Linked DNA regions of Homo sapiens: region 2 is linked to region 1. The links are contacts of gene promoters, found by promoter capture Hi-C in human tissues and cell types (Jung and others, 2019). All regions are on one chromosome and are shown on one strand. Each heading gives the region's core, a stretch centred on a gene start or on the middle of the fragment in contact. The rest is flanking DNA. Distances are from core to core; before and after follow the strand shown. Region 1 holds the start of NUP43 (nucleoporin 43). Region 2 overlaps KATNA1 (katanin catalytic subunit A1).

Evidence for each region. Contacts are between HindIII fragments. The study calls those that stand out against the background at their distance.
Region 2: a fragment that was not itself captured here is called in contact with the fragment with the promoter of NUP43 in region 1 in 1 of the 25 tissues and cell types used here (psoas muscle).

What each region holds. Positions count from the first base shown.
Region 1 is chr6:149,744,065-149,749,063 of GRCh38, forward strand. NUP43 (nucleoporin 43) reads right to left here and starts at 2,465. Exons shown (of 8, transcript NM_198887.3): 1 at 2,312-2,465; 2 at 1,876-1,998. The coding sequence starts at 2,431. RefSeq lists enhancers at 2,775-2,834, 4,677-4,999. The HindIII fragment of the contact is 10,037 bases long and covers 1-4,999 here.
Region 2 is chr6:149,604,858-149,610,172 of GRCh38, forward strand. The region is part of intron 4 of KATNA1 (katanin catalytic subunit A1); the gene reads right to left. Among named protein-coding and RNA genes, the nearest start is that of GINM1, 41 kb to the left of the region's middle. The HindIII fragment of the contact is 6,159 bases long and covers 1-4,911 here.

The DNA of each region.
Region 1 (4,999 bases), core at 1,215-3,714:
GGAGTTCAAGACCAGCCTGCGCAAGATGGCGAGGCCTCGTCTCTACAAAAATACAAAAATGAGTTGGGGTTGTAGGGAAGTGGAGGTTGCAGTGAGCCAAGATTGAGCCCCTGCATTCCAGCCTAGTTGACAGAGCAAGACTCAGTTTCAAAAAAAGAATAAAAATTTTAAAAAAGAAAAGCCAGGCACGGTGGCTGACGCCTGTAATCCCAGCACTTTGGGAGGCTGAGGCAAGCGGATCACGAGGTCAGGAGTTCGAGACCAGCCTGGCCAATACGTTGAAACCTCATCTCTACTAAAAATACAAAAATTAGCTGGGCGTGCTGGCATGTGCCTGTACTCCCAGCTACTCAGGAGGCTGAGGCAGAAGAATCACTTGAACCCACGAGGTGGGGTTGCAGTGAGCCGAGATCGAGCCACTGCACTCCAGCCTGGGTGACAGAGCAAGACTCGTCATAAAAAAGAAAAAAAAAAAAGGAAAGGAAAATATCGTCTGGGCATGGTGGCTCACACCTGTAATCCCAGCACTTTGGGAGGCCAAGCCGGGTGGACCACGAGGTCACGAGTTCAAGACCAGCCTGGCCAACATGGTGAAACTCCATCTCTACTAAAAATACAAAAATTAGCCAGGCATGGTGGCATGTGCCTGTTGTCCCAGCTACTCGGGAGGCTGAGGCAGGAGAATTGCTTGAACCCAGGAGGCAGAAGTTGCAGTAAGCTGAGCTCTCGCCACTGCACTCCAGCTCGGGTGACAGTATAAGACTTCGTCTCCAAAAAAAAAAAATGTATCTTTCCTAGAGCTAGATAGCTTTCTTTTTTATTTTATTTATTTATTTATTTATTTATTTATTATTATTATTTTTTGAGACAGAGTTTCGCTCTTGTTGCCCAAGCTGGCGCACTCTCGGCTCACTGCAACCTCTGCGCCCGGGTTCAAGCGATTCTCCTGCCTCAGACTCCAGAGTAGCTGGGATTACAAGCGCGCACCAGGGCTAGGTAGCTTTCTATGGAAAATGCAGGGGCTCTCCACACCAGGATTTGAAAACTTAATTTCGGCCGGGCGCCATGGCTCACTCCTGTAATCCCAGCACTTTGGGAGGCCGAGGCAGGCAAATCACCAGGTCAGGAAATAGAGACCATCGTGGCTAATATGGTGAAACCCCGTCTCTATTAAAAATACAAAAAATTAGCCGGGTATGGTGGCCTGCGCCTGTAGTCCCAGCTACCCGGGAGGCTGAGGCAGGAGAATCGCTTGAACCCGGGAAGCGGAGGTTGTAGTGAGCTCAGATCATGCCACTGTACTCCAGCCTGGGTGACAGAGCGAGACTCCATCTTGGAAAAAAAAAAAAAAAAGAAAACTCAATTTCATCCCCACCACTCATTACTGGTTTTGAGACTTTGGCCAAGTTAAGTTCACTAAATCGTGGTAAATCTTTAAAACGGGAGCACTAATCTCTACTTAGGGAGTTGTTATGAGAATTCAAAAAACAAAATGATGTTATCCCCCTGCACAGTATCTGTCACATAGTACATGCTCAAGATATATTAGTCTCAATTTTCTCATTAGTAAAACAAAGTAACGATACTTGATTCACTGGCATGCAACAATAATTAATTTTTGTAAAGCTCCCCAAACGGTATTTAGCACATAGTCGACAGTCAATTAATAAAAAAGTATGATTAAATCTACATCCCCTTTCCCAGTCCTTTTTCTGCCACTAAATGGCTAAATGATGTTGGGCAAATCATAACTTACAGAGCACTCAGTTTTCTGTAAACGAGGGGTGACACCAGACAACTTTTATGATGCTCTGCTTGTTTAAATGTATTACTCAGGACTTTCAAAGTTAGCTTTTGGATGCTACACAGATTTACCTGTAAATCCATTACATCACCATGGTGTCTGATATCACACAATAACTGATGGTCTCCTTCAAACCCTCCATCAGAGTCCAAGTTTCCAAAATCTCCAATAGACCACAGTGAAATATAATTTTCCTGTAAAACAGAAAGTTTTGTCTTGAGATGACATAAACGTCAACTCTCGGAAAATAAAAGTTGTGCTCCCGTCCGGAAATGTTGCTCCAAAACATCTCAAATGGTATGGTGAGTTTAAAACACAACGAGATACGAGGCTCAGGCATGCCATCACCGGCTCTGAGCTACGGAGCAACCGCGCCTGAGACAGGGGTCCGGGGGACCTAAAAGTGCGAGAAGAACCAGAAGGTGGGAGTTGGCGCGCGGAAGGCCAGGGGTCAGCTCAACCGGAGAGAGGGAGGAGGTAGGGGCTCGTCCCTATCAGCGGCGATACCTCATTGTCCCAAGATCCTGTAGCGAACGTCTCCGCGGTCTGTAAACTTCCCGGAGGCAGCGGTCGCCAGCGGGTTTTGCTGATTTTCTGGGACACAAACTTCGCATAAATTTCCTCCATGCCGAAAGCGGCCGCAGCAGGTACTGCAAAAAGCAAGCACAGTACGCGCCTCTCAGCACCGCCTCTTCCCGCGGAACCCTGATTGGATGGGACTTTAGGACGGAGACGGTGGCTGCAGAGAGTCAATTCTCGTCGATAGCCAGTGTGGGCACAGTCAGTACCTAGACTGAGAGGCCCACCCATCTCACAGAGCAGCTCTGAGCAAAGGCAAGAGCGCTTTGGCCTTTGAGCAGTAGGACTTGCTCCTAATCTGCAATGTCAGTATTTTCTTGTGTTCAATAATTGTGCAGTGTAAAATTTAAGTGCAAAAACAGAACAAAAACAATGCAGTAGAAACCACCTTGAAACCACACCTAAGCAGTTGCAGGTCACTGCGCATAGAAAACGATTCAAAAATCCTTAAATACTCGTGGAAGTACCTCGAATAAAGTGCCAACCTACTATCCCAAACCTCTCCCTCTTGTCTCCCAAACAAATACTTTGCTTCAAAGTTAATACACACTGTCAGAGCCTGGAGTTGGAATTCTGAAAGACTCCAGTTTTAGTTTTGATGCCAATTGCCTAGCTTTGATCAATTCAATTACGTGCATGATTAAGAATGAAGTTTGTGATACCTATTGTCAACGGCCCAGGAATCAGTTTTCTAGGTTCCTTCTGTGCTTTTGGTTACACCTATAATATTCTTCCCTTCCTCTTTACTCCTCAGAATCCTGCCTATCCTTCAAGGATCTGTTCTTTCCTTTACCATTTCCTGACGACCCCAGCCAATGTTGATCTAAATCAACACCATTTTTTTTCTTTTTTAAGACAGGGTCTCTGTGGCCCAAGCTGGAGTGCAGTGGTACAATCTCAGCTCACTGCAACCTCTGCCTCCGCCTCCCAGGTTCAAGTGATTCTCCCACCTCAGCTTCCAGGGTAGCTGGGACTACAGGTGTGCGCCACCATGCCTGGCTAATTTTTTTTTTTTTTTTTTGGAGAGACGGGATTTCACCATATTGGCCAGGCTGGTCTCGAACTCTTGACCTCAGGTGATCCAACTGCCTTGTCCTCCCAAAGTGCTGGGATTACAGGCGTGAGCTAGCATTTGATATCTAGACCACTAATGACATATATTTTGGATATATCTTATGTTAGTTTTCTTTAGATGCATATTCCTCCCCCATTAGAATGTAAATCCTACTGAATACAAGAGATATGACTTATTCAACTAAAAAATGAAGCTCTTTTACACTATAGGTATTCATAACTGTATGTTGGTTATTTCTTTAAAAAGGGCCATTATGCTACTGTTGTTTTTATGTGATATTGGTAGTCCTACTTCACAGGGACAGTTTACGGAAGCACTGCATGTAAATGCAATCCATCTGGGTCAGCTTTAGAGTTACCAGTTTCCTATCAAGGATTTGACTTTTTTCTTTTCTCCAAATGGAAGATCATCAAGAAACTGTAGAAAGATGAAATGGAAAATATTAAGTGGGTTACAGTCCCAAATCAACAATTTTATTCATGTTTAATATTGAAGTAAAGAACACTGTTTTGGCCAGGCACGGTGGCTCACGCCTGTAATCCCAGCACTTTGGGAGGCCAAGGCAGGCAGATCACGAGGTCAGGAGTTCAAGACCAGCCTGGTCAACATGGTGAAACCCTGTCTCTACTAAAAATACAAAAATATTAGCTGGGCATGGTGGTGCGTGCCTGTAATTCCAGCTACTCGGGAGGCTGCGGCAGAATTGCTTGAACCGGGACCTGGGAGGTGGAGGTTGCAATGAGCCAAGATCATGCCACTGCATTCCAGCCTGGGCTACAGAGTGAGACTCCGTCTCAATCAAAAGCAAAAAAACAAAAAGAAACCAGTTTTGCCTGTAGTTTCATTTATGGTCACATAATCCCAGAAAATAGGTAATGTTGATTTTGGATTGGAAGCAGGCCAGTGTCACATTTTACAAAATCGGATAAGAACTAGAATTTGAAAATTGTGCTGATATAGTGGCACAGATGTCTTAGCTTTGTTTCCTTCTAAAAGATTACTGGAGGCCGGGCGCTGTGGCTCATGCCTGTAATCCCAGCACTTTGGGAGGCCGAGGCGGGCGGATCATAAGGTCAGGAGATCGAGACCATCCTGGCTAACACGGTGAAACCCTGTCTCTACTAAAAATACAAAAAATTAGCCGGGCGTGGTGGCGGGTGCCTGTAGTCCCAGCTACTCGGGAGGCTGAGGCAGGAGAATGGCCTGAACCTGGGAGGCGGAGCTTGCAGTGAGCCGAGATCGCGCCACTGCACTCCAGTCTGGGCGACAGAGCGAGACTCCGTCTCAAAAAAAAAAAAAAAAAAAAAAAAAAAAGTTACTGGACTAGATGATGGCTGGATTCTGTCAGTCTCAGGTCTAATTAGGAGTCAGCGATTTGGACGCGACAAGCAATGTTCTCAGTGAGCTTCTCACTCATGGTCTTGCAGAGCTGAGAGCAATAAAGCCACGGTGGAATTTGTGAGGCTTAATTAGGTGGAAATGCACACTTACGTCGGGAGAATAACACGTTCACCAAAGGACACAGTGGTATTTTTTAACCA
Region 2 (5,315 bases), core at 582-3,081, 140 kb before region 1:
CAAGTGACGTCCTTTAAAAAGCTAATACATCATTTGGCCAGGCGCAGTGGCTCACACCTGTAATCCCAGCACTTTGGGAGGCCAAGATGGGTGGATCACGAGGTCAGGAAATCGAGACCATCCTGGCTAACAGGGTGAAACCCCATCTCTACTAAAAATACAAAAAATTAGCCAGGCATGGTGGCGGCACCTGTAGTCCCAGCTACTCGGGAGGCTGAGGCAGGAGAACAGTGTGAACCCGGGAGGCAGAGCTTGCAGTGAGCCAAGATCATGCTACTGCACTCCAGCCTGGGTGACAGACCGAGACACCAACTCAAAAAAAAAAAAGGCTAATAATAATAATACAATAACAAGGATAGGACCAAAGACTCTAAGTCATCCTTCTACATCAACATTGGTTTGATACATCAAAAGTATCAAAGAAAAATAAAAATGACCATGCAAATGAACTGGCTAGCATAAAAAAATTAATACTGAGATAAATGTGGTCGCAAGTGAATATCAGATATACACAAAATGTATTTCAATCCTTTAGAGGAGATAAGATTAAAGACAGATGGCTTATTTAGCCAAGACTATGGCTCAATCTTTAAACACCTACTTGTCCCTCATCAATGCTCCTAAAAATATCCCTTTTCATTATTCCCACTACCCTCCAAAAGACACATCTCAGTCCTTACATGGGATTCCTCTCATCCTCTGTGATGACAGTCATTAGGGCCACGGTTCCCAAACTATGTACTCAATACCCAGGACACAATGGCAAACTCACGAGGTATTGTGGGATAGTTTAAATTTTTGAAAGAAACACAGCAACATCTGTTGAACACTGTGTGAACTACTAGCTAGAGGTAGTTCACGATTCCTACATAAGACTGCTATACTCCTCTTCAATAATGCTTTATTTATTTATTTATTTATTTATTTTTGAGCTAGAGTCTCACTCTGTCGCCCAGGCTAGAGTGTAGTAGTGTGATCTTGGCTCATTGCAACCTCCACCTCCTGGGTTCAAGCAATTCTCCTGTCTCAGCCTTCTGAGTAGGATGACAGGTGTGCACCACCACGCCCGGCTAATTATTTTTAGTGGAGATGGGGTTTCAGCACGTTGGCCATGCTAGTCTTGAACTGCTGACCTCAAGTGATCCGCCCACCTCGGCCTCCCAAAGTGCTGGGATTACAGGTGTGAGCCACTGTGTCCGGCCTGAATAATACCATATTTTTGTGAAGCTGGGTTTTGGGCAGTTGCTGTGATAAGATGTACAGAGAGAAAATCAATGTGGAAGAGGAATGAGGGTAGAATGTCCGTTCTGACTGCAGGGTTTGAGAAACTGTGTAACAGGGCCCAATAGGTGTTAAACTGCTAGAACATAAACTGTTTGAACCTAACTTCTTCATAAATGGATAGGTATTTTTCATAAGTGGATGGGTATCCTGGCCTAGAGATGCTATATAAAAATTACTAAGATACTTATGAATATTATAGGCCAAGAAAATTTATGAAGCCCTGCATTAGGGTAAATAAACATTTTTTCTGCCGTACTAAGATTGTTACCCAATTCCCATAACATTTTTTTTGCACGTAACATGATGATTCCTTTGCCAACTGGTGCTGTCTAATGCCATTATTAATGTCCAGACTTAACCAATATTTATGATATTCAAAATGTTAACCTAGATGGCCAAATAAGCATCAGTTCCACAATGTGTGTATTGAGCCTCCAATATTAGCATAAAAGATTCAAGGAAGGAACTGTGTAACTTTTTTTTTTTTTTTTTTTGAGATGGAGTTTCATTCTTGTTGCCCAGGCTGGAGTGCAGTGGCACGATCTTGGCTCACTGCAACCTCTGCTTCCCCGGTTCAAGCAATTCTCCTGCCTCAGCCTTCCGAGTAGCTGGGATTACAGACATGTACCACCATGCCTGGCTAACTTTTTATATTTTTAGTAGAGATGGGGTTTCACCATGTCAGCTAGGCTGGTCTTGAACTCCTGACCTCAGGTGATTTGCCCACCTCAGCCTCCCAAAGTGCTGGGATTACAGGGGTGAGCCACCACACCCAGCCAGAACTGTGTAACATTTAAAAGAGAAGAAGATAATCTTTTCTTCAAAGTATTTATAAAGTTGTTACTCATTTACAGATATTTAACAAGTATCTGTTCTGTGTTAGCAGCTATGGAGAACAGGAAAAGGACACTGTACCTGACTATCAGGAACATATACTGTAAGCCAGGGAAGATACAAATATAAGGCATTTTCTCTTTCTCTTTCTTTTCTCCCATAGAACACAGTACTAAGGGAATGTTCGCAGACAAAGCAAAACAAATTTAAGTAGGCAGAAGAAAGAAACAGTGTTGTAATAGGACAGCCAAAGAAAGCTGTGGAACTTCAAATGCTGACATATTTAATAGGATTTTACTTAATTAGTTGAAGTAGTACAATTTCTTTTAGATATACATCTATCTAATAATTTGCTCCTGGCCAGGTGCAGTGGCTCATGCCTATAATTCTAGCACTTAGGCTGAGGGGGGTGGATCAGTTGAGGCCAGGAGTTCGAGATCAGGCTGGCCAACATGGTGAAACCCCCTCTCTACTAAAAATACAAAAATATTAGCTGGGCATAGTGGTACATGCCTGTAGTCCCAGCTACTCAAGAGGCTGAGAGGAGAATCGCTTGAACCCAGGAGGCGGAGGTTACACTGAGCTGAGATTGCACTACTGCAGTCCAGCCTGGGCAACAGAACAAGACTCCATCTCAAATAAAAACAAACAATAACTTGTTCTAAGTGAAAACAGTAACCAGTAGGAAGTGGAAAAAAACAGTTGAGGGATTCAAAGGGACCTAGACTCCTTTTTTCATGCTCAAAATAAAGTTTCAGATAGACGGATTAATCAGGACATAAGTCCTTGGGTTTAAAACTAGTTCTTTTGCTGGGCTCAGTGGCTCACGCCTGTAATCCCAGCACTTTGGGAGGCAGAGGCAGGCAGATCACCTTAGGTCAGTAGTTCGAGACCAGCCTGGCCAACATGATGAAACCCCGTCTCTACTAACAATACAAAAATTAGCCAGGTGTGATGGTTCACACCTGTAATCCCAGCTGCTCGGGAGGCTGAGGCAGGAGAATCGCTTGAACCTGGGAGGCAGAAGCTGCAGTAAGCCAAGATCAGGCCACTGCACTCCAGCCTGGGCGACAGAGTGAGACTCCGTCTCAAAAAAACAAAAACAAAAACTAGTTCTTTTAAAGCTGGCAAAATTATAAATACAAAACCCATTACCTCAATTAAAAGAGTTAATTAAAAATGACAGCTGGGTTCTCATTTCCAGGAAGATGGAGCATACTTTTCAGCATTTCTTCTGCTAAACAGAGCTAAAACCCTTGGGTATTATACATACCACAAACACAGGAGGACTCTGAAAGGTGCAAAGAAGCCAGCAGAGCCACTAAGGAACTCAAACATGGTGTGAGTTCCCTGGGTTTTCTTTCTTTCAAATATCCAAACTTGGGGCTGAAGAGCCGGCAACCTGGATACGCCAATTTGAACAAACAAAAACACCCCAACAGAAGCTTGCTCTTTCTAGGCAAAGGACCAAGGAAGGGGCAGTCTAGCAAGACAGAGCTTTTAGACAGTAACACTCTACTCCAGTCAAGCACCACCAAAGACTTGTGGCCCCGGCCCCACCCAGGGCAGCAAAGGCAGGGTGGAAGGCCTAGGACTTTCTACTTCTGGAAGCCTACAGTGAGTTACCTCAAACCCCCACCAGGGTAGAATCAGAGGCTAAATAAGAAGCTGAAACTTTCATTCCCAAAAATGAAATGAACAAGAGCCCCTGCATGTTCTCTCCCCCACCCCTCCCCGCCACAGTCACTGGACATCATAGAGGGAACCTAGACTTCCACTCCCCAACCACAGTGTCCCTGGAGAGCGTGTGGAGAACTTCCACCGCAGCTCAGCAGTAATGAGAAGGCCTCTGCCCCTAGGCAGGTGCCGACAGAGGCTGGCTGGGGAACCTGAACTTCCATCCCCACCTGGCAGCGGTGGCACCCCAATCTCTCTGCCAGAGCAATGTTAGGAAAAATCAGCTAAACAGAAGGTTTAAATAAGATCTAGAGTCTCATGATATAATATGAAAATGTCCAGGTTTCAACAGAAAATTCCTCATACCAAGAACCATGAAAATCTCAAATTAAATGTAAAGAGACAATGAACAGATGCCAAGACCAAAATGACAGTGATGTTAGTTTCCTGACAGATTTTAAAGCCTTTTACATGCTTCAATAATTATGAATGTACTTGAAAGATTATGAAGAAAAATAGCCTCAGAAACAAATAGAACACCCCAAAGACTCCATGCCAACACACATTATACTTTAATTTCTGAAAACCAAAGACACAGAAAAAATTGAAAGCAATGAAAGAATATCAACACCTTGCTTATAGGGAAAAACAATTCAGATGAAAGCAGATTTCTTCTCAGAAAAGCAAGCCAGAGGAAGTAGCATAGTATTTTTTAAGGAAAAAAAAAAAGTATTTTTTCAAGAAAAAAACTCAGGCCAGGTGTGGTGGCCCACGCCTATAATCTTAGCACTTTGGGAGGCCAAGGTGGCAAGACTGCTTGAGCTCAAGACTTCAAGAACCAGCTTGGGCAATAAAATAAGATCCTGTCTCGGCCAGGCATGGTGGCTCAGGCCTGTAATCCCAGCATTTTGGGAGGCCGAGGTGGGTGGGTCACGAAGTCAGGAGTTTGAGACCAGCCTGGCCAACACAGTGAAACCCCGTCTCTACTAAAAATACAAAAATTAGCTGGGCATGGTCATGGGCACCTATAATCCTAGCTACTCGGGAGGCTGAGGCAGGAGAATCACTTGAACCCCGGAGGCACAAGTTGCAGTAAGCTGAGATCGTGCCACTGCACTTCAGCCTGGGCGACAGAGCTAGACTCCATCTCAAAAAAAAAAAAAATAGGCCAGGTGCGGTGGCTCATGTCTGTAATCCCAGCACTTTGGGAGGCCGAGGCAGGCGAATCACCTGAGGTCGGAGTTGGAGACCAGCCCGACCAACATGGAGAAACCCTGTCTCTACTAAAAATACAAAATTAGCTGGGTGTGGTAGCACATGCCTGTAATCCCAGCTACTCGGGAGGCTGAGGCAGGAGAATCACTTGAATCCAGGAGGTGAAGGTTGTGGTGAGCCGAGATCACGCCATTGCACTCCAGCCTGGGCAACAAGAGTGAAACTCCGTCTCAAAAAAAAAAAAAAAAAAAAATCCTGTCTCTACAAAATAAAAATTAAAAAATTAGCCAGGTGTGGTAGCACAC